Regions from separate parts of the Homo sapiens genome. Here regions 1, 3, 4, 5 and 6 are each linked to region 2. The links are contacts of gene promoters, found by promoter capture Hi-C in blood cells and fetal thymus (Javierre and others, 2016). All regions are on one chromosome and are shown on one strand. Each heading gives the region's core, a stretch centred on a gene start or on the middle of the fragment in contact. The rest is flanking DNA. Distances are from core to core; before and after follow the strand shown. Region 1 overlaps LOC105378977 (a long non-coding RNA gene). Region 2 holds the start of LINC01948 (long intergenic non-protein coding RNA 1948). Region 3 overlaps LOC105378977 (a long non-coding RNA gene). Region 4 has its middle 56 kb from the start of C5orf67. Region 5 has its middle 14 kb from the start of C5orf67. Region 6 has its middle 37 kb from the start of C5orf67.

Region 1 (3,799 bases), core at 424-2,923, 170 kb before region 2:
ACTGTGAACGCCCCTCAGGGACCACAGGGAAGAGGATCCCACAATCAATTATTATCTGGGCACTCTTTACTCATCGTGGAATTTGGCGCGCCCTTGGGTGCTGTGTTCCAGCTCAGGATCTCCACTTTTCAGATTAAAGAGCTGTTATAACTCTCTGTTTATTTTAGGAAAGATTAATGGTTCCCCCTCCTCGTTTCTCAGGGACAGACTTTAATCTGTCTAGAGTGAGTCATGAAATATATCAGCTCAACCGCTCTGGCTGCAAGATTACAGATATAAAATTGTCCGATTTTGACAAAAAACAGCTGCAGCCCTTCTTTTGATTTTGAGTCCACAATCACATGTGGATAGAGACAGATAGGGGATGTGCCTGGTAAGAGTTCCACGATAGGCAGAGACATAGGTCAGGAGACACAAGCCCTCCACCCTTATCTATAATCCTCCCAAGAGCCTCCAACTTGTCACCTTCAGCAAGATGTCTCTCAATTAATTCATGTCAGGTTAATTTAACTCAATTCAACCAACTCTCACAAGCTACTTTCACGATTAATGTGGAAAATGAAAGGTGAGCAAGAAGGAATACTCTCAACAAGTTTCAGTCTACCGGTGGTGAGCTAAGACCCACCAAGGAATAATCGTGATAAATGCTATTTAAAGCTGTTTGAAGAAAGAGGGCATTGAAAGGTGAGCTCCAACCTTAGGCAAGACCTTCTGGAGAGGGCAGTGTTGGAGCTGATCTTGAAGGGCCTTGGCGTGTGTGTATGTGCACAGGTGTGCATGTGTGTATGCACCTGAGTTTACAGGGTTAAGCAGAGAGAAAGTGAAGCATTCCAGGAAAAGATACTTTGATAAGCACGTGGAGACAGAGAATTGCAGTGCTTGGGGAATGTGTGGGAAAATCATAGTTGAAGAGGGCTTTAGGTCCAGATGTTTGATGTGTTAGATTCACCTGGGCAACTTGTGAAAAATTCATCAGCCAAGGTCTTGCCACTGGATTTTAAAAGCTAGGCTGCTGGGATTTTGAGACGTTAATGATTTGCCAGGGTCATTTTGCTCATTAACTAATAGTAGGACCAGCTGGAGGACCTGTTTTCAGGGAAGAAAAAGTTTGTTTTGTTTTGTTTTAATTCAAAACTGCTGGGGTGTAAGATTTGCGAGGGGAGTTACAAAATAGAAGACTAGAAAAGTAGGTTGGACCCAAATTATGGATAGATTCAATGAAAGGCTAAGGAAATTGGAATTTTTCTATCAGCAGAGAGAGTCATTGAAAGTTTCAGAGAAGTGACATTGTCAAAATAATCAGAGATATCATCTAAAAACAAAAACTTATGGGTTCAGCCTGTTGACTGGAAATAGGAGTATAACTGGCTTACAGATTCCATACCTTCCCAGCCAGTTAGGCCCTCCTACTCTCATCTGAATCACATTCCTCCATAAGCCTATAGAGGCAGGGGTCCCCCCTCTTATATAAGTGATGAAATATCTCTGAGCACCCTCACTGTATCAAGCATTTCAAAACAGCTCTCTAAACCCTAAGGATGTAGTGTTGGTAAGATGAGTGTAAATGCTCATTTGGCTCTTGGCCCAAAGAAAGTACATGCTAATCCTCCCCCAAACCCACCTCATGGGGTCCATCTACCTCTGTGGTAGGAGTAGCAGCCCTGAGTCCTTGCCTGAGGATAAAGGGAGAGTGTATGTGGGTGACCACAGTGCTTCACCACAGCCAAGAGAGCAAATCAGGAGTCAGGCCTGCAGATGATGGACCCTCTCAAGGCTTCATGGGCAGATGGCAAGTCACAGAATGGGGATAGAACTGTGTTGCTCCTGGAAGTCTGCAGTCTGGAAGTCTGGGCCCTAGTTAGGGCTACATTGCTTATTGCAATCAGAAGAGGAGAGGTGGGAAAGAGATTTGAAGCCTGATTAAAAGCCCACCAGCTGTTTACACCAGGTGACGCTGGCCTTGGGAAAACAACTACTGGCCCGAATAGCTGCCCCGTGGGTACTTAGCTCACCTGCTTCCTCATACTGCTTGCCTTCACCACGTGGAAAATTCTCTCAGCCTTTACCCATAATTTGTCTTTCTTCTTTTTGTTTTCTGGAGGGTAAAATGTAGTTTCAACTGAGAGATCAAACAAAGATACCCTAAATGGAAGCACTCTGTATAGAAGGAAGCTCAAGATTGCAATTAAAATGTTGGCAGCATCATTGGAAGGCAGAGAAACTATCACCTTGGAACAAAGATTGGGCTAAAATAATCCAGAATGAGGAAAATTGTTTAAAAGAATTATCTACACCATGAAGAAATTCATCAGCATTTTGTGTAAAAGATGGAAGGTCAGAAGTAACGTACCTTTCATTTATACTGTGTTCAGATGTAGCATTTCTCAATGGGTATGTTATTGATAATTAGGCAGTACTGTGTTATATACAATTTTTCCACATTGGCAGCCACCTCGCATCCCCAGCACCTCCTCCAAAGTGCCAGCAGCACTCTCAGTCATGGTAAAACTAAAAAAGTCCTGAGAAACGCTGCTCTAATGTTTCAGAGTGCATGTGAATAAGTTATTTCCTTTAATCAGCATAATGATTCAAAATATTTGTAACATTTTCACTCTTCAGATGATGAACTGAGACCGAAAATGAATTGCTGGCTTTTTCACCTGTCTAGTGAAGGGTGCTGCTGGGCCTCAAATTCGAATAGACTGATTCCTAATTCAGTTCCTTCTCTAAAACATTGTGCTATCTTTCAATGGAGGCAGAGATTTATACTTGATTTCATCAACTAATATATATATGCACCTGAACTTTTGTTGTTATTTATATTCTAGCTATGTTCTAAGGAACATAGATTTTGTTAAACAGAACACACTTTGTTTCGCTGAGGGCCTTGATGGACACTTAGCGGTAGGAGCTAAGGGGAACTGGGCTAATTTGTCTGATAGAGGGAGAAGGTCATGGAGCTCCCAGGGAAAATAAGGAAGGAAGAGAGGACAGGACAGAGAGCCTAGAGGTAGAGGACCTTGGGAAGCCTGGAACTATGTAACATGACCCACCCACATACTCTCACTCTGCATCCCAAGGTATTACTTGTACAAAGTATTACTCAAGAAATGCTTAAAGTGTGAATTGTTTTGTATAAAATGACAAAGGGCTGAGTATTACACCTGGGTTGAGAGAGGCTGATACAGAGCCAGTACATATGGACCCAGGAGCCAGAGGCAGGAGGGATTATGAGTGCAAGTTTCCTGACAATTAGAAAGAATCAAAGGCAGGGATGTTCACAGGTGTAGAATTGGTGGATTCACCCAGACATCTGAGACTGTGGAAGCACTAGCTCACATCTGGGTCACAGGCAACTCAAATGAAGGTTGAAATACTGCAATGCTGCTGGGCTCTACAATATTTTCCAGGAATTGTAGTCAGGAGAACTGATTTATGTCAAAGAAAACCAAGCTTGAAATATTTGAAGTGACTGATGATTTACTTCCTAATCTGATGAAGACCATAGAGGAATTCTCTGGATAGAGTTAAATTGATGAGTGAGGGACATGATGTAGACCCAGAAATAAACACCTGGAAGGAATATGCAGCCAGCGGCCCCAGAACTGTTGCTTCCATAAGCATGGAGAGGCTTATGGGTGGTCATTCTCTGTAATAAACATTGGATGGTTCCGTAACTCCAGATTCCATGAAAATGACAAAATGACAGAAAAGGACTGAATCCATATATGGAAAGAGGACCAAATCTTAAGCATAATTATTATCTAGTTATGATTGCTATACACTGGGATTCTCATAT
Region 2 (3,800 bases), core at 742-3,241:
CTGGTGCCGCTCCCTGCAGATGCCCACGATGCCAGGCAGCCTGGTTTAGTTTGTGGAACGTGCTCTAATCCGTCAGCACAGCCACAGTAGATACTCTGAAAACTAAGAGAATCACCTTCAGCAGCTTATCGACTAACCACAGGCCCTTATCTCAAATGGGAACTGATTCAAACCGTTATTCAAGCTTATTCAAATGAATTTGAGAGTCTACTAACAGCCCTGGCTACATAATTTGCCGGGTGCAGTTCAAACTGAAAATGCAGGGTCCTTTTCAAAAATTATTAAGCATGTCAACATGGTGTCAGTAGAGCATCCAACTAAGCACACGTCGGCTTCTGAGCACAGGTCACAGGCCCAAAAACCCAGCCATGCCAAGCAATGACTATCCAATAAGTCAAACACCAGGAAACCCCAACCCCTCCACAGCCCTGCGGCTGCTGCAGCAGAAAAACAAAAACAAAACAGACACTCAACACCATCAGCATCAGCTCTTCCCAAACCACCAGCCTTCCTCAGAACCTCCCTCATTTGACCTGTTTTAACTCGTGTTCCCTCGACCTTCAAATTTTCAGTGTCCACAAAGCAGATCAAGGCTATCACAAAACAAAACAAACACCAAAAAGCCAACCCACTGGATCTAGAGACCTACGGACTTGCCCTCCTGATACTTGCAGCTGGTGTTTAAGGACGTGCCTGCCTTGGGCGATGGGCGGGTAGAAACCTCACACACCAAAGCCCATCGAGCTAAACTCAAGGTTGCGAACCCCAACCCCGGTGGGAACACGGTCTGCAGACACGCTCCCTTAAGTCCCTGTCGCACACAATAAATTGCTTTCTGAATATTCCCTTTACAACTGCAAAAAATAGAAATGGCTGTAACTGTGCAGAGAAAGAAAAGAGAAGCTGGGATGAGCTCCATCAGGGGCCGAATCTGCTTCTCGCTGGTGGATACTGTGATAAGAAACCTAGATCTGAACGGCCTCACAATGGCCTATTTATCCGGCTCTTACGCACGGCCGGCAGCCCCGGCTGGGAATCACGGGGGTGGCAGCCGTCCCCGGAAAACGGCGGCATTCCGACACAGGAAAGCCCGCGGATCAACTGATCTGCAGACAACGCTTCTTCCTTCCTGGGAAGCGGCCACAAAGGCAGCCAGCTGACCCCGGCCCAGCGCGGCTCCCGGCCGAGGAGGACAGGGGCGGGGTGGGGAGGGGGGGAATCGTCGCCCGCCCCGCCCCCACCCCCCAAGTTTCCTTTGGCAAAAGCATCCCAGGCGTGGTTCAGGCAGAGTCCACGCCAGCGAGGCTGGGGCCGAAACTCTCCACGCCAGGAAGGCGGGGTAGGCGGACCCGCCGCCCCCAGCCCCGCGCGCCCGCCGCGCCCCCCACGGCCCCCACCAGCTGGCTCTTCCGGCCGGGGCGGCCTTGGCCTGGGGCTGGGGTTGACTTTGGTGGGGGGACAGGAAGGACTGGCACAGCGCCCGCGACTGTCCCCTGAGGAGGACCCTCCCTACGACTTTTGGTCAAAAGCAAAAAGAAACACAGACATGTGCGTCACCCCGGGAAGCGCGCGGGGGTTTCGCTCGCGTTTCAGGAGCCGACTTCGCATCCTCCCTCGGTAGGGGGGTCGGGGGTTCCTAAAATTTACCCCCCAACTTCACTTCTCTGGCGACAGAGCACCTTAACAGTTCATTTCCCTCTCGCTCTCAAGTGAAAACATCTTATTTTTGTGTTAAAATGTATAAAGACACCATGAGAATTGGCAGGAGGTCAAACCGTAGATTCTGAGATGCTCCGGTCGCTCCCCAGGAAGCGCTGTTTTCGGAAGTGTTGACCCAGCAGCTGGTCCCTGCTGCTCTAATGACACGATGTGTGCTTTCACTTTTTCACTCCCAAAACGACGTGGTTTGGAGTCTTGAGAGCCTTGGAAATCGCTGCCCGTGGAGGGAAAGGTCTGGAGAGGCCAGGCCAGGAGAGCAGACATGCTGCAAGAAGCGGAGGCAGCCCTGTGAACTCGCCTGGCTCCGCAGGGAGGGGCGAGGCTGTCCAGGTCGCAGGTGGAGCTGGCCAGCTGCGAGCCAGGATGTCCTTGCTCTTTCCAAATTATACACAGTTTCCACAAGGAAAAAAGAGAGGGGTAGGGGGTCCAGGCAGATCTTCAGCTGTTTGTATACTCTGCACCAGGAGGCGCTATCATCAGCCCGGACCCCTACTCCACAGGACTGAGGAGACCACAATTCTTCCCTCCAGGCAGAATCGTGGACCCAATATTCCCGTCTCCCCGAATTCTCTTAACTCAGTATACTGCCATTAACAGCATAGTCAGCCTTCTGGACTTGAACTCCAGAAGGAATTTTGTCTCATTTAGTGCCTGCAGGGGAGCAGGATGAGATAGTACCTCTTGTACCGGCACAAGGTCTCTGAGTTGACTCTTACATAAACATTGCGCTGTTTCTAGGGACGGCATCATTTCTTGACCTAGAGAAACAAAGATATTGTGGGAAGGACCCCTGATGCTCAGTGGCAGTTTGGAGACCTGGCATTAGCCTTACTCAGTAAGGCTTCCTGATCTAGCAGGACTGATCCAGTCAGCTTTGATGATCCCCTAGCCTGGTACTGGGATTCTTCCAAACACCCATGAGATCACCCACATCTCACAGGGGCTGGTAGTGTTCCAGCAGAGAAAGGTGAGGGTAGCAAGCAGTAGTCACTTTGGGCCTGAAATGAACATCTTGGGGTTTTTATATCTGCCCACCCACTATGGGACATTATTGTCCCTTCCTCTTTGCTACAGTGTTTCCAGAAAATGAGAAGTAGCATCTTCTTAGAAATAGATTGGGTACCCTGTCTTAGACCTAGTTCCTTTTTTTTTGTTTTTTTGAGACGCTGTCTCACTCTGTCTCCCAGGCTGGAGTACAGTGGTGCGATCTGGGCTCACTGCAACCTCCGCCTTGGGGGTTCAAGTAATTCTCCTGCCTCAGCCTCCTGAGTAGCTGGGAATCCAGGTGTGTGCCACCACACTCGGCTAATTTTTGTATTTTTAATAGAGACAGGGTTTCACCATATTGGCCAGGCTACCCTTGAACTCCTGACCTCAAGTGATTCGCCTGCCCCAGCCTCCCAAAGAGCTGGGCAGTTACTTTTATTATAGTTCTAGATAACATAGAAAAGAACATGGAAAGCAGCTATGCAAGCAAAACACAAACACAAACAACCCTGTTAAAAAGTGGGCAAAAGACATGAACAGACACTTCTCAAAAGAAGACATGCAAGCAGCCAACAAATGTGAAAAGATGCTCAGCATTGCTGATTATCAGAGAAATGCAAATCAAAACCACGATGAGATCTCACACCACTCAGAATGACTATTATTAAAAAGTCAAAAAAACAACAGATGCTGGCAAGGCTGTGGAGAAAAGGGAACACATATACATTGCTGGCATTGCTGGTGGGAATGTAAATTAATTCAGCCACTGGGGAAAGTAGTTTGGAGATTTCTCAAATAAAACAAAACTACCATTCGACCCAGCAGCAATCCCATTACTGGTACATATCTAAATGAAAAGAAATCGTTTTACCAAAAAGACATTCATTTTTATGTGCTTCACAGCATTATTCACAATAGCAAAGACATTGACTCAGCCTAGGTGTCCGTCAATGGAAGACTGGTACATATACACCATGGAATACTATGCAGCAATAAAAAAGAAGGAAATCATGTCCTTTGTAGCAACATGGATGCAGCTGGAAGCCACTATTCTAAGCAAATTAATGCAGGAGCAGAAAAACCAAACAGTGCAT
Region 3 (3,788 bases), core at 1,259-3,758, 150 kb before region 2:
TCTTACTACAAATTATATGTGTGTGTATGATTCATGTGTATATATATATATTCATATTAAAAGATCAATTAGTGTTAGCTTTTAAACTAATGTAAGAGTCTTTAGAAACAGGCAAACAGATTAGAAACACTTTTCTTCCTTTTTTACTTCCTTCCTTTTCTTTTTTCCTTCTCTTTGCTTTGTTCTTTTCTCTTTTTTTTTTTAAATACAGGCATAAATATAGAAGGGAGGATCATATATATGTGTGTGTGTGTGTGTGTGTGTGTGTGTGTGTGTATATATATATATATATGTATATGAATCATAGTTTGCCTTTTTGCTCCTCCACTAAATTGTTAGCTCTAAGAAGTGGGACATGTATGCTTTGTTCTCTGCAGTAAATTCAGTTCCCCAACCCCAGATATTCTGGGATTTGATTGGTCAGGGGTGGGGTGGGGTCTGAGCACCGGCCTTTACTGAAAGTTCCTCACATGGTTCTCATGTACAGCCAAGTGGAGACCTGTTTATCTAACCCACCTTCATCATTTTAAGAAGGAAGGAGCTGAGGCCCAGAGAGGTCACCTGACTTGGTCAAGGTCTCTTGGAGCTGGCTATAAGCAGATTGAGACAAGGACTCAGTTCTTTTAGGGCCTGGTCTCTTTGCACACTATAATGTCCCTTCACTTAAGTTGGAGAAGCTTTATCACTGAGTAGAGAGAGGTTTCTTTCATATTTTTGCATTCTTGGAGGATGACTAACTCATGCTTGTTAGCCTGGGACTTTCCAGGTTTTAGCGCTTTAGGTCCTGTGGGTCTCAGGTAAAGGAAACAAAAATATGCCACTCCAAAATATACTTCTTTGGTATATTTTGATATGACTATTCACAGGAACTGCAAACCACAGGAAAAGCTTTGAAAAGCTGTCTTTTGGGGAGGCGGGGAGATTTGCATCTGTAGAGGAAATCTACATTAGTGAAATGAAGTTAACAGCAGACACAAACAGGGTTTTATAAGGCCTCCCTTATCCAGACCTAGGAAAGATTAAATCACAGGAAAGAGGGACTAAAGTTCTGACACTTCAAAAGGTCTGACAGATAAAGTTTTACCACATAAGAGCAGGATACTGTCTGTTCTTTCCGAGGGCTGCTATCCATGGGGCTCTATCTGCATAACAAGATAGCCTTTGCTCACCATGCCTTTTCTCCCCTCTTCCTCCAATAACTTGTCTTGCCATGCCCCAAGCCTCTATTCCTTGCTGTATGGTATATAACCTTCAGCCATCTGGCTTTCCATTGAGTCTCATACTTTGTGTGTGGCTTCTGTGTCCATATGCACATTAATAAAATTTGTACACTTTTTTTTCCCTGTGAATCTGCCTATTGTTAGTTTGTTTTATAGACTCAAATTATTTAAACTTCAGAAGCAAGAGCGAAGGAAATTCTCTTCATCCCTACCCAGGCAAGCTGAGATGGTTGACATCACTGTTTGCACAATCACTAAGTCCAGGTTAGGAAAGAGAAGCAATGCCATACGGTGATTGAAACCCAAATTCTAAAGCTAGACTCACCTAGGTTTGAACCGTGACTTGTCAATTAGATGATGACCTCAGGCAAGCTTCAGTTTCTTTATGTGTAAGAAGGGAGAAATAATGTTGTATGCCTTAAACAGTTGTTGTGAAGATGAAATTAGCTAATATTTGTAAAGCACTTAGCACAAAACATTGTTCATAGTAAAAGATCAATTATGGTTAGCTTTTAAATTGATGTAAGAGTCTTTAGAAATGGATAAAATGATAGATATACTTTTCTCCCTTTTTTCTTTCCTTCCTTTTTCTCTTTCCTTCTCTTTGTTCTTTTTTCTTTTTAAAATGCAGGTGTAAATATAGAAGGGAGATGTGTTTCTGAAGGTCTAGCAATTGCTAGAGCACTAAAATACCTCTTTTTTTTTTTTTTTAACCAGCGCTCATTACTGTCTGTCAACTCTAAATGCCACCCAGACATTTCTAGGTAGTGCAATTTTGCCCTGCCAAGTGAAAGCATTTCATGACGCTCAATCATTAGGCAGCTATTTAAAACAATTTTCTTTCAGAGCTTCTCCTTCCCTTGGGCATTCATGCTGAAGACTCTGTCAAAGTGCCTATTTCCTGGAATCTGGCTATAGCAGACTTCCCAGAGGTTGGTACACCAGACTAATCATTTTTCTAAGGCAGCACTGGAGCCCTCAGGATACCAGTTGAATCTGATCCACATGGTAGCTCTGGGAACACAAAATGCTAATGATGTGGAACTTAGGCCACTGGTATTTATTCTATTGTTGTTTGCTTATTTATTTATTATCCGTGCAGGCCAACCAAAAGATAAATTTGGGACCAACCTCAAACAAGGTAATTGGAGTGTTCATTCAGTAGTCTTAGCTTACTTGTACTGGCCATCTTTATGTCTTTAGTGAGTCCATATTAGAAATGACGGTGTCTTTTTAGAAGGATGAACTAAGCAGAAATGTAGAAAAATCAGAATTTTTGAGATTCAACTTTGAAGACAACCTCCTCCAATTCCTTGGAGAGTATTTTGCTCATTTAATACTTGGTTACATTGTAACATTTTGCAACCCACCAGGAAATCACTCTAACAGTAACTGCTCGTCAAACAGTGACAAGAGGATTTGGGGAAGGCAAACAGCTGCAGATTCAGATGTGGGAGGGAGGTGGGCAGATGATGGGGGAATGAATCTTGAGTGTCCACATGCCAGGGAGAGGCTCAGCCAGGAATGACACTCCAGGGTGACTGACAGTCAATGAAACTTGCCATTCTAATCAGCAATAAAAAGGAATGAGCTGTTGCTATACACACAACAGGGATGGATATTAAAATAAATGTGCTGAGAGAAAGAAGCCAGACCAAAAAAAAAAAATAGTGCCTACTGCCTTTCATTTATATACAATGCTAGAAAATGGAAACTATTTCACTGTGACAGAAAGCAGATTAGTAGTTGTCTGTGACTGCACTGCCACCATTCAACCTGTTTCTTAGGTCAGTAATTTGGCATCACCTTGAATCTTCCTTCTCGCTCTCGCTCCTGGTGCCCATTGACTCAGTAGACAGGCCCTAAAGAGTCTACCTTGTAAATTTTGTTCATAATCACCCTTTTCTCACTGTTTTCATGGTCACTTTCTTAGGTCCAATCTTCATACATCTTTTCTATTTCTTATTTGTAGTAGTCTCTAAATGGTTTCCTTCCCTCTATTTCCTGCCTATTCTAATTTATCCTTCATACTGTTTTCTGAATAACCATAAAATATTTTCTATCTTTAAATATAAAAAACAAAATTATAAAATATTTAAAAAATCATTTAAAATGTGCATAGAATTACAAACACTTCAGTGCCTATAACCCAAGATTAAGGACTGTTCACATTTTGGAATTTGTCTTTTGTGTATTATTATAAAAGAAGCTTCTCTTTTAATGGAACCATCTTTGCTCTACTTCCCATCTTCTATGCCATGGGTGCTCCCCAGTTTCCAACACTGTCATATATTTGTATATATCTATTTAGCTCATGTTGCGTACTTCTAATAAATATATGTATTCCTGTTTAAAAATTAAATAAATGATATAATATTGTATATGTCATTCTGCAACTTGCTTTATGACAAGTGTTTGATAACTATGTGTGCTGATATAGATGAAGATGAAATTGACTCTATACTGCTATATAATATTCTTATTACATTATACATTATGCATTATCTTGTGGGTGGGGCATTTGTGCTGTTTCTAGTTTTTTGCTGTTAATAGAATTTAAAAAATAAA
Region 4 (3,967 bases), core at 762-3,261, 180 kb after region 2:
AAAAAGGAGAAATAATCTTCTAAAGCTGAGAGTTTATGATTGTAGCCATGTCCAAATATTTAATCTTCATTTTCCACTTCCTCTGCTGAGATAAAAGTGACCTAGAGTGGAAAGTGGTAGCTAAAAAATTCTCATCACAAACCAAGATCACAGCTACTGTTCCCATTGATCTTTCAACCCCACAACAACACCAAGGAGCAGTAACAGGCCGGGCGCGGTGGCTCACGCATGTAATCCCATCACTTTGGGAGGCCAAGGTGGGCAGATCACCTGAGGCCAGGAGTTTGAGGCCAGCCTGGCCAACATGGTGAAACCCCGTCTCTACTAAAAATACAAAAAATTAGCTGGGCATGGTGGCGAATGCCTGTAATCCCAGCTACTCAGGGAGGCTGAGGCAGGAGAATTGCTTGAACTCAGGAGGCGGAGGTTACAGTAAGCAGAGACCGTGCCACTGCACTCCAGCCTGGGCAACAAGAGCAAAACTCCATCTCAAAAAAAAAAAAGGAACAGTAACAGTTCCTGTATTCTATTTCTCCTGAGCCCATTAGGTAATGATTGCTAATTGCCTTGAGGAAAGAGACAGCATACTGTCTAGAACAGATAGGTGAGGAAGAATCATTCCTGACTTTCTACTTCTATAGGATATAAAGTCTTGCCTGTGTCTTTTCACTTAAGAGATGCAAGTTGACCCCCTCCCCAAATGTCTCCTTCCAGGAGTTTATTGTTGCACATGAAAATCCTATTCTCGTGATATTCCATGTTTGTTAGTGGAAGCAAGTGTATTCTGCATGAATAGAAGTATGTCTGTTTTGGTGGAACTTTGCTGAAGTGTAAATACCCATGGGCTCAAGACATCAAGCTTTACAGGTGATTAACTTTAGGGTGCTATGTAGTTGATCCTGTCCTTCCCAGAGTGATGGCTGTGATAAAGGGGAGAGGGAACAGCCCCAGGAAAAACCTGTACCTACTTTGCAACGAACAGAATCTGTAGGGGGATCTGGTACAACTTAAACTTTGTTCCCCCCACAAATTTTTGCCAGAAGGTTGGGACCTGGCCTCATTCTTCAGGGTCAGGGGACTGTTTCCCATGCCAGTCCATTCTACTTTTGAACAAATCTTACTCATTAGATCATTGGAGAATCCTTTCTTGCATCAATTTCCATTTGATTTCCCTTAAACATGCAGACATTCATCCTGGTCTTGCCCCACTACTACATGCACTCTAAAATCTATAAAATCTTCTAAAATCCATAAGCTCTTCAACCCTTCCATAGAGAAATCACTCATGCCTCCTCCTGAGCTTTTCCATTTTGGGCTAAATCATGGTTTCTGCAATTTCTGCAACAGTTCCAGATATGATACAGTTGCCTGATTTTTAACCAGCTGGTTGACTGTCTCCAAACTCTGCTTTTTTGTTTTTTGTTTTTTGTTATTTGTCTTTGACCCTATTAAGTATATGGAACTCAGCTGCAGTTTGACTAGAGTTAAAATGCAGACAGGCCATTGCCATCCTTTATCAGAGGATTCTACTCCTGTGAATGCACTCTAAGACTTGATGCTCACCACGTGGCAACCAACTCCCATTGGACTTCCTCGGTGATAAAACTCATGAGACTTTCCACATGAACTTCTGTTAAGCCAGTCATCTCCAGTCAATTTGTTTTTTTTAACCGAAGATCTGATATTCATTCCTCATTTAACTTTATCCCCTTAGTTTCAGTCCATTGATCTAACATGTGGAGCTCTTTTAGAAATACTGATTCAGTCAGTAAAACCTCTCAAATTTATGTAATCTACAAACATCTAAATATGTCTTCTCTATTTTCATTCAACTTGTTGATGAAAGTGAAGATAAGACCAAAAAGCTCAGATATTCGAGACCAAATGTCAGAGACATCACCATGTCCTGTTCAGAGCCATGTTGATACAACAAAAGCAGATGCCAGATGCTGGAGAGTTCAGTCCTGCTTCCCAGTCCAGAGACACTTCACATAAAGGAATACCACATTTTTGGACATAAGAAAGTATTCTATTGTTTTCCTTGAGTTGATATTGGATAGGGGTGTTTGGTATTGCTTTTCATACTATGCACACATAGGATTCTATGGATGCAGAAAGAACAGCCTTTTATCCTACCTTACACATTACATAACAGGCCTCTGACCTTTAAAGAAGATTATTTTTTATTAAAACAGCCTTCTTGCCAAAGTCCTATGTGCTCCTTTCTAAGAGAGATTCCCAGATTACCGCTTATCCAATCAATACGACAATAAAAGACACATCAAAACCTTAGCCCTGTATTTTCCTAGGGTTCTCTAAATCCTGCCCAAAGAGGTGCTGTTTTCATTTCCCAAGAAAAATAGAACCATTCTACGAATTACTTGTGAAAACTAGCTGAAATTCTAAATTCAAGATCTTGCAAAGTAGATTTGAATGCTAAGTTAAGACAGCTTTCAAGGTAGAAGCTCTCAGTTTGAATACAGAAACCCGTTTTGGCAAAGTCATGTGAAAAATGCAAGCATGTCCCAATCAGAAGTTCTCCCAGCCGTTTCCCAGCTTCATGTCTAACAGAGGTTGAGTGTGAGCTGAAGAATGGTTTGAATAATAACATGAGAATAAATAAGTCACTTATTTGGGGATTCTAATGGGGAAAAAAAGTCACTAAGTAAAAAGTCACAACTAAGTTGAGATTTGAATTAGCTTCATCATGGAATGAACAAGAAAAACCCAAGTAATTCTATTTCTTTTGGAGTTCAAGCCCATCAGAGCATGAATTCCTCTCCTATAAGATTCTATTACAAATAAGTTGGATCATAGCTCACCTTGCCACATTTCAGCCTTATAAAAGAAGCCTTCCAGAAGGGATTAGCCTTTCTCTTTCCAAAAACCCTGAACAAATTTTCATGTACCCTTCTTGATCATTTTGCAGGAATTGTTCTGATAAAATAGCATTTCCCTCCTCCAGGTCTAATGCCCATCACCTTCTGACACAGTAAGTGACCAAATCTTTCCCTCATAATATGTCCCCATTCAACCCTTCCTCTGTTTTCCCTTATTTGCTGTCAGAATGACATAACAACTGAATCCTTCAGGCTCGGGGGCCTCTCTTTTCTTCAGTATTCAAATGTAATTATTTGAACTGCAGGAAGTCTGGTATCCATCTCAAGCTTCCAGAGGCTCTGCCATAGGAGGCTTCTGTTGGGTGGGTGCCGGTCACTCATTTCCCAACCCCTGCTCCTGGCTCCTGCTGAGCTTCTCAACCCTCTTGCTCACCCTCACAGCCCTCCTTTCTTTGCAGGTACACTGTTCCCCTTCATTCCGCAAGGCACCACTAATGTACAGCCGTATTGAATAGGACTTACACTGAAGGTTTGGAAATTTTGGAAAGGCACTATGCAAAATTGGACTCAGCATCACTGTAGCTAGTGTCTATCCATAAGGAGTCCCTTCCTGGCTAAGTTACTGGGCCTGCCCTCAGAATGGGGTCTCTGGCACCCTATCCTCTCTGCCTCACTCACCAAGGGAAAACTCAATCTTCTTTAACAATAAGAAAGAAGAAGAAAGAAAACAAAATAAACAAATGACCAAAATCTTTAATAACCCAGCAATCCTAAAATGCAGACATGTCTGCAGTCAGGTTTTGTTTTTGTGGGTATTTTTTAGTAGCAATTAAAAATGTTTAGCAAGCAAAAAATTTAACAAGCAAAAAAAAATTTACGATATAAATGTGCAAAATCACTACAGCATTTTTAAAAATCATAGTACATCTATATGATGTAATAGCATTTGGTTATTTAAGGTTATTTGGCTTCCTGTATAAGGTGCAGCCTCCCAGCAGTTATTTGCAGTGTCTTTCAATGGTAGGAAAATTACTCATTATATAATGTTTAGGGAAATTAGGATCCAAAATTGTATGAAGTGTGACTTCAACTCCATAAAAAATCTGGAGGAAAGCATGCCAGACTAT
Region 5 (3,529 bases), core at 550-3,049, 140 kb after region 2:
CTGGTTACCCTAATTCCCTATTCTTCTATCTCAATACCATACATTTTCTCAATTTTGCCATTTGCCTTTTCTCTGGTTATAGAATTATTGTGTTTTTGTGTCTGATGTAGTCAATTATTCAATTATTTGCTGCTATGGCTTTTGCTTTCATAGGCCTGCCCCATATCAAATTGAAATCCATTTCTCTGATTATTTATGTGTGAATTTAACATATGTTTATTGAACACCTACTCTGTGCCAGGCACTCTCCACTTTGCTAGTGAATAAGATAAAATAAGGGGCTGGGTGTAATGCCTCGTATGGGTAATCCCAGCGACTCAGGAGGCGTAGGCAGGAGGATTGCTTGAGGCCCAGGAGTTTGAGACCAGCATGGGCTAAATAGTGAGACTCTGTCTCTGCAAAAATGAAAAAAAAAAATTAGCCGGCCATGGTGGTATGTACCTGTAGCCCTAGCTACTTAAGAGACTGAGGCATGAGGATTGCTGGAGCCCAGGAGTTGGAGGCTACAGTAAGCTGTGATCACACCACTGCACTCCAGCCTGGGCTACAGGGAGAGATCCTGTCTCAAAACACAAAAACAAGAATAGTACCATACCTTCATTGAGCTCATAGTCTTCTAGGGGGTTAGAATGGGGTGGATTTGAACACAGAACTGCTATGAAGAATGTTATCTGTAGTAATGGGGAATATATAGGCTGCTTGGAAGCCCACAGCAGGAGCATTTATGGACTTCCAGGGACGTCAAAGAAAACTTCCTGTAGGAAGTGACATTTAAGCTGCATTCTGAGTCTTATATTTATGGCTTCATTCTACATTTAAATCAGGAGTTAATTTAAGTTCAAGCAGCAATGTACCTAGTAAATGTGATCAAAATAAGAGCTATCATTGCTTTTACATGTTGGATTTCTATATGTGCTTGGGTCTGTTTCTGGGCTTTGCATCCTATTTTTTTAAAAGCTGCCTCTTTTTGGCTCCTATGTGTTCTCTTTATAATTATTGTCTTAATTTTGTATTTGAGCCAACATATAAAATCATTTGCTTTGCTTTTATTAATACTTTTTACACTAAATTAATTTTCTTGATGTACACCTGTACTTTTGTCAGTTTATTACAATAAAATCACTTTTCACCATATTTATTATAGTTTTCCATTTAACTTCTTAAAATACTTAAAAATTGTATGTACTAAAAGTACATACAGTATATTTTCACTACTTAATGAAAAATAAAAAATGACACCCATGTCCCTCACACTGTGCTCTGATCCATGCAGAGGGCTTATGTGCTGCTTTCTGATCTGTCCATTTCTATGCCCTCAGCCGTATCCTACATTGAAATAGCACTGAGCATTCCCTTGCTTTTCTTCATAGTTTTACCACCTGTGTTTCCTCCAAGCAATATATCATTTCATTTGCCTTGTTTCAACTTTTCTTAACGAAATCATTCTATATTTTTGTAACTTCCTTCTGTGGTTCAGCATCATATGTGTTTACATATACAGATAGAATACAGCATGTTCATTTATTTTTACTGCTACATGGTAGTACAGTATATATATATCCTTAAGTTTTTTAATCCAATTCATTGTTGATGGATATTTATATTACTTTAAGATTTTTGCTAATAGGAATAACGCTTTTCTGAACATGCCCTGGTTCACCTGTAAAAGTTTCTCTAAGATTTATACATAGAAGATAAATACCTGGGTCTTAGAGTATGCACATATTCACCTTTACCAGTTAGTGCTGGATTGTTTAACAAAGCAATTGTAACAAGCTACGCTCCCACAAGCAGCCTTTGAAAGCTCCTGTTGCTTTCTCGCCAACACTTGGTATTAACTGACTTTTTAACTGTCATTAATCTGATATGAAAGGATACTATTGTAGTATTTATTTACATTGTCTTGACATATAATAAGAGCAATAATATTTTATATATTTACTGGCTGTTTGTATTTCCTCCTCTAGAAAATGACTGTTCATGAAAATTGCCCATTTTTCTATTAGTTTATTCCTCTCTTTCTTAATGATTCAAAGGGTTCTTTTGCATTCTGAGACTAGCCCTTTGGTCACATGTGTGGCAAATGTCTTCTCCCTCTTTATGACTCTTATTTTTTCTCTCTCAGAGAAAATAAGGTTTCTTCTGATAAGCTGAAGTTCTTGATTTTAATATAGTCAAGTATAATAATCTTTTCCTTTATGTTTAGATGCTTTTGGTGTCTTGCATAGGAAGTCTTTCCCTACCTCAAAATCATAAAGATATTTCCTATTTTTTTCTAAAAGGCTTAAATTTGGCCTTTCCATTTTTAAGTCATGAATGAATCTGGAAATGATTTTTGTGTAAGGTCTAAAGAGAAAGGCATTTTTAATTTTTTTATCCTTTGTAAGGACAACCAATTTTCTCCCATTACTTCTAATTGAATAGTCCTTTTTTGCCTCATTGATTTTTTACTCACTGAAGATGACATCTTTTAGAAGTTCTAAATTTATGTGAAGGCATTCAATCCACCCTGTCCTGGATTAAGCTCCAGTTTTTGCTCCTGTCCCTTGAGAATATCTGGCCCATGGAAATCTAGACAAAATCCTCCAGGGATTTAAGGGAGTATAAGGGGATATTGCACAAGGCAAACACAGATCAGAGTTCACTTCTACCTGTGGTATCATCCTTTCTTCCGTCTCTGGCCTCCAATTGTTTCCCCACTTTACCACCAGCTCAGTCCTGCCTTTATAAATATTAATTTCAGGTATCCGTATAGGAAGAAATTTCTCTATACTTTCAATTAAAATTATTGCCCTTAATTTAAAATCTAAATCAATTCGATGTTATTTCCAGTTCTTTTTATTTCACTTATAAAGTTAGGATTCTTTCTTTCTTTTTACATCATTGTTATTACATTTAATCTGGTTAGCTGAGTTATGTTTCTCAAAAAATTTTCCAGGAAGGGTACATGAATAATTCCATTCCTGTGAATATTTTAGTATTTCCCTTACATGAGAAAGACATCTTGGCTGAGTGACACTCTTTCCCCTCTGCATTCTTTAGATGTTATTCCATTGTCTTCATCAGAAAATGATCCTGAAGTGCTTGAGATCAGGCTAAACTGTTGGCCTGTTTTTGTTTTTGTGGGCTGATTTTTATGGAGGTAGGGGTAGAAATAAAGTAATAGTGATCTGCTTCTGTTTCTATTGTTGGATGATTACAGAAATTTCTTTTTTTCATTTCCTTTTCTTTTTTGATGTTATTTAACATCACCAGAATATACTTTGATATGGGTTGTTATTTATTAAGTTTTCCCAGGTTACAATAATCCCTTTCAATCTGCAGATTCAGATTGTCCTTCATTCTAGGAAAGTTTTCTTATATTATATCATTGAATGTTTTATTTTTTCTCTTTTCTTGTCCATGAATTGCTATTTTCTGTGTATTAAATCTCCATCGACTATTCTTCATAGCCATAATGTCATTTCTAATCTCTCGCAATTCAGTTCTTTTCCTCAGTTATTTTTGGATTTTTCTCAATTCTATCTTT
Region 6 (3,406 bases), core at 204-2,703, 160 kb after region 2:
TTCCTTTCTGAGCCGCTGCCTGGGTCATTAATTAAACAATAGACAAAGGGAAACATTAACTCGAGGGGATTTTATAATAACAATCTTTAGGGCTGAACCAGGATTGGCTAAGAACATGAAAGGAATTGGAAGATTTGCGGCCATCTAGCTACAGGAGAACAAAGTTCACCTTTCCCTTCTTCTCCTCCCAACAGGTATGCTCCAAAGATGATGCCTCATTAATTCTGTGGTCCTGTCAGTTTCTAATATTTCTAAAATGTTCTCAGATGCTCAGGCAAGCACAGACCAATGAACGAATGTAGATACTAAAGGCAAAGTTTTACAGGACTCTAAAGCCATTCAGGCAAAGACAAGGTGTAAACAGAATTTATTCTAATTACTATTATTATTTTTATTATTTTAATCAGATAGGTCTATTCAGGACATGCAAGCTTAGCTTTTGAGTCTTGGTCATAAACCTTTGGGCATTTTTTTCTAAGTCCTTGTAATAGCAACAATGAGAGATTAAGCTAGAAAATAAATCTACTAATGAGTAGCTATCTTATAATTAGTAAGCACTCTCCTTCATATAAAATTCCATGCCAGTCTCTAATAGCCACCCTCTGTACTCACGTAGAGCCTTTCATCTGAGATGCCCAAAGTACTTCTTGCTAATACCAGTGCCAATTCTCTCAGAATTTCTGTAAGTCAGGGAACTAGAATTCCCATTCATACGGCATACTGACTGTTCCTGACATCTAAGCCCTTCTGTCTCCATCTTATGTAGTTGTAGGTGGGCCCCTGCCCCAGGTCACTGTGGTACCCACAGCTCAATGAAGGGGAGAAAGGATCCTATCAAGGTAGGAAATTCTGGTTGCAGCCACATAGGAGACAATGGGACAGAAAGGAAGCTACTTCATTGGAGTTAGGCCTGACTGCAAACCCTGGCTCCTGTGTTTCAGCAAATTAACTACCCTCTCTGAGCTTCAGTTTTCTCATCTATAATCAAGAATGGGGCCAGGTACAGTGGTTTACACCTGTAATCCCAGCACTTTGGGAGGCCAAGGCACAAGGATTGCTTGAGGCCAGGAGTTTGAGACCAGACCAGGCAACGTGACCCCATCTCTACCAAAAAAAAATTTTTTTTAAGTTATCTGGGTGTGGTGGGGCACACCTGTAGTCCCAGCTACTCAGGAGGCTGAGGCAGTAAGATCCCTTGTGCCCAGGAGGTCAAGATTACAGTGAGCTATGATCATGTCACTGCACTCCAGCCTGGGCAATGAGTGAGACTCTGTTGAAAAAATAATAATAATAAAACAAAAAAGGATGTAATATAATAGTACAGTTCTTGACCCACATTAGGCACTCAATAAATACTTGCTTGGGGTATGAGGCTGTATCAGCCTTCATATCCTCAATTTCATTGTATCTTTGAAAGTAAGCAATGTTGTGTCTGGTTAATACTTGGTTGAGGGCCTGCGTGGGAATAATGCTCATAGTAAGCACTCAGTAAATCCTAGTGGAATTGTCTTGCATTGGGAGAGTCTATTTCCAATGTCCATGCCACCCAAGCCAACTTGAGTTTTCCACAAGAACAATCCAATATTATCTCATGTAAATTCTAATCCCTGTGTTTGAAAGATTTTTTTTAGGTGCAATTGTAACCTCCCTCTTCAGTATACCTGGGTTGATTTTCCAAATCCCTTCCTGTTCTGCATTCATAACCAATGGGGAATACTGTTATGAATTGTATCACTTTGTTAAATACCAATAAAAAATTATTAGTTACAGCCAGATGCAGTGGCTCACACCTGTAATCTCAGCACTTTGGGAGGCCGAGGCAGGTGGATCACCTGAGGTCGGGAGTTTGACACCAGCCTAACCAACATGGGGAAAACCCGTCTCTACTAAAAATACAAAATTAGCTGGGTGTGGTGGTGCACACCTGTAATCCCAGCTACTTGGGAGGCTGAGGCAGGAGAATCGCTTGAACCTGGAAAGTGGAGGTTGCAGTGAGCCAAGATCAGGCCATTGCACTCCAGCCTGGGCAACAAGAGAGAAACTCTGTCTCAAAAAAAAAAAAAAAAATTATTAGTTACAGGGATTTGTTGAAAGGATTTCTTATGTAAAATTGTCTTGTATAAACTTTAATGTATTAATTATACTTTGTGGATTTGTTTGAATTATTTTTAGAATGTGAATCGTTTAGTCCTTTCAGATATTTGAAAACAAAATAATATACTTTGGATTATAAATATCATATTTTCATTAGATTTTTCATAACTCTACCAAAAATCCAGTCATGCCATTCGGCAATCAAAAGCTATAAAGTTACGAGAAGCTCCAATTTTCTGGATCTGAAAATTAAAAAACAATTTATAAACTTATTTGGAAGGCCATGATAATGACACCACATTTACTCAGAACTCACTTATCTAACCTCAGCCTGTTCAAAATATTGAAATAACCAAAAAGTAAGAATGAGCTTGGAAAAGGGAAGCTTCTGAGCAGGCAAAATAGACATTAATATGTTAAACATCTATATTTCATGGTTGTGAATTTCATTGACAAGAGATCTTTTAGAATATCACTCAGAGCTAAGTACTCTTATTTTGTCCACAATGCTAACAAGTTTTTCATTCGATTTTGCCCATTGTTGGTGGATGAAAAGCAGCATATCAGAAGTGTGTAGACATTAGAGAGAAGAAGAGTTCTCCTGGGTGTCAGCCCATAAGCCAAGAAACCAGCTGGTTTTTGCATAACTATTTGTCTGGCACTTTAGCAGATATTAAGGGAGAGAAAAGTAATAGTGATTGTCCTTACCTTCCCCACCTTACACCTTGGTTGGTAGTAGAAAAGGGACACATACAGGAAACAACTAGAGAACAAATAAATTGTGCAGTACCGGCCATATGCACTAAAATAACTCAGAGAAGGGAGACATCAGCATGGAAGACAGTACAACAGATTTCACTGAGACCAAATCTTCTGAAAAATTATAAATTACAGCAAGCTCTCTGTCTTAAAGATAAAAAAAAAATCTGGAAAGTGGTATCTTGAAATCATTGTGGTAAACATTTCTCTTTGGCCCTAAGACCAATTTTGAGACAATTACATTTTTATTTTACCAGGTGGTAAGGCAGTTAAGAGTGGGGACCTGCCAGCACCCATTCTTTTGTCCTACAGAGCATATAGCTGTGCTGTGTACAGAAAAGCCAATTGTAAATATTTGTCAAATTGAATTTCCAAGTCAGGGCATATTAATATACTCTGTTAATTATCACATTAAAACCTAAACAGGTGGTAAATTTAGATGAGATGCAGAGAAAAATGCAAAACCAGCTAAGAGCTCAAACGGACTAGGAAATACCTAAAAGATTGGGGAGAAAAGCAAAGGTTTGCTCAGAAGAGATGAACAGGAAGTTTT

What was found. The method cuts DNA at HindIII sites, captures the fragments that hold promoters and counts their contacts. A CHiCAGO score of 5 or more calls a contact.
Region 1: a fragment that was not itself captured here is called in contact with the fragment with the promoter of LINC01948 in region 2 in 8 of 17 cell types (total B cells, naive B cells, neutrophils and 5 more); the score reaches 12.9 in total B cells.
Region 3: a fragment that was not itself captured here is called in contact with the fragment with the promoter of LINC01948 in region 2 in 9 of 17 cell types (total B cells, naive B cells, neutrophils and 6 more); the score reaches 17.5 in total B cells.
Region 4: a contact is called between a fragment that was not itself captured here and the fragment with the promoter of LINC01948 in region 2, in 5 of 17 cell types (naive B cells, total B cells, neutrophils and 2 more). The highest score is 14.6, in naive B cells.
Region 5: a fragment that was not itself captured here is called in contact with the fragment with the promoter of LINC01948 in region 2 in 2 of 17 cell types (naive B cells and total B cells); the score reaches 5.9 in naive B cells.
Region 6: a fragment that was not itself captured here is called in contact with the fragment with the promoter of LINC01948 in region 2 in 9 of 17 cell types (naive B cells, total B cells, neutrophils and 6 more); the score reaches 16.5 in naive B cells.

The regions. Positions count from the first base shown.
Region 1 is chr5:56,310,693-56,314,491 of GRCh38, forward strand. All of the region lies in intron 2 of LOC105378977 (a long non-coding RNA gene), which reads left to right. Among named protein-coding and RNA genes, the nearest start is that of ANKRD55, 79 kb to the left of the region's middle. The HindIII fragment of the contact is 3,556 bases long and covers 1-3,451 here.
Region 2 is chr5:56,479,778-56,483,577 of GRCh38, forward strand. LINC01948 (long intergenic non-protein coding RNA 1948) reads right to left here and starts at 1,992. Exons shown (of 5, transcript NR_104664.1): 1 at 1,776-1,992. RefSeq lists enhancers at 391-560, 1,761-1,920. The HindIII fragment of the contact is 6,332 bases long and covers 183-3,800 here.
Region 3 is chr5:56,328,305-56,332,092 of GRCh38, forward strand. The region is part of intron 2 of LOC105378977 (a long non-coding RNA gene); the gene reads left to right. Among named protein-coding and RNA genes, the nearest start is that of ANKRD55, 97 kb to the left of the region's middle. The HindIII fragment of the contact is 1,837 bases long and covers 1,591-3,427 here.
Region 4 is chr5:56,660,543-56,664,509 of GRCh38, forward strand. No RefSeq gene overlaps it. Among named protein-coding and RNA genes, the nearest start is that of C5orf67, 56 kb to the left of the region's middle. The HindIII fragment of the contact is 2,308 bases long and covers 858-3,165 here.
Region 5 is chr5:56,618,470-56,621,998 of GRCh38, forward strand. No RefSeq gene overlaps it. Among named protein-coding and RNA genes, the nearest start is that of C5orf67, 14 kb to the left of the region's middle. The HindIII fragment of the contact is 6,601 bases long and covers 1-3,529 here.
Region 6 is chr5:56,642,033-56,645,438 of GRCh38, forward strand. No RefSeq gene overlaps it. Among named protein-coding and RNA genes, the nearest start is that of C5orf67, 37 kb to the left of the region's middle. The HindIII fragment of the contact is 2,048 bases long and covers 430-2,477 here.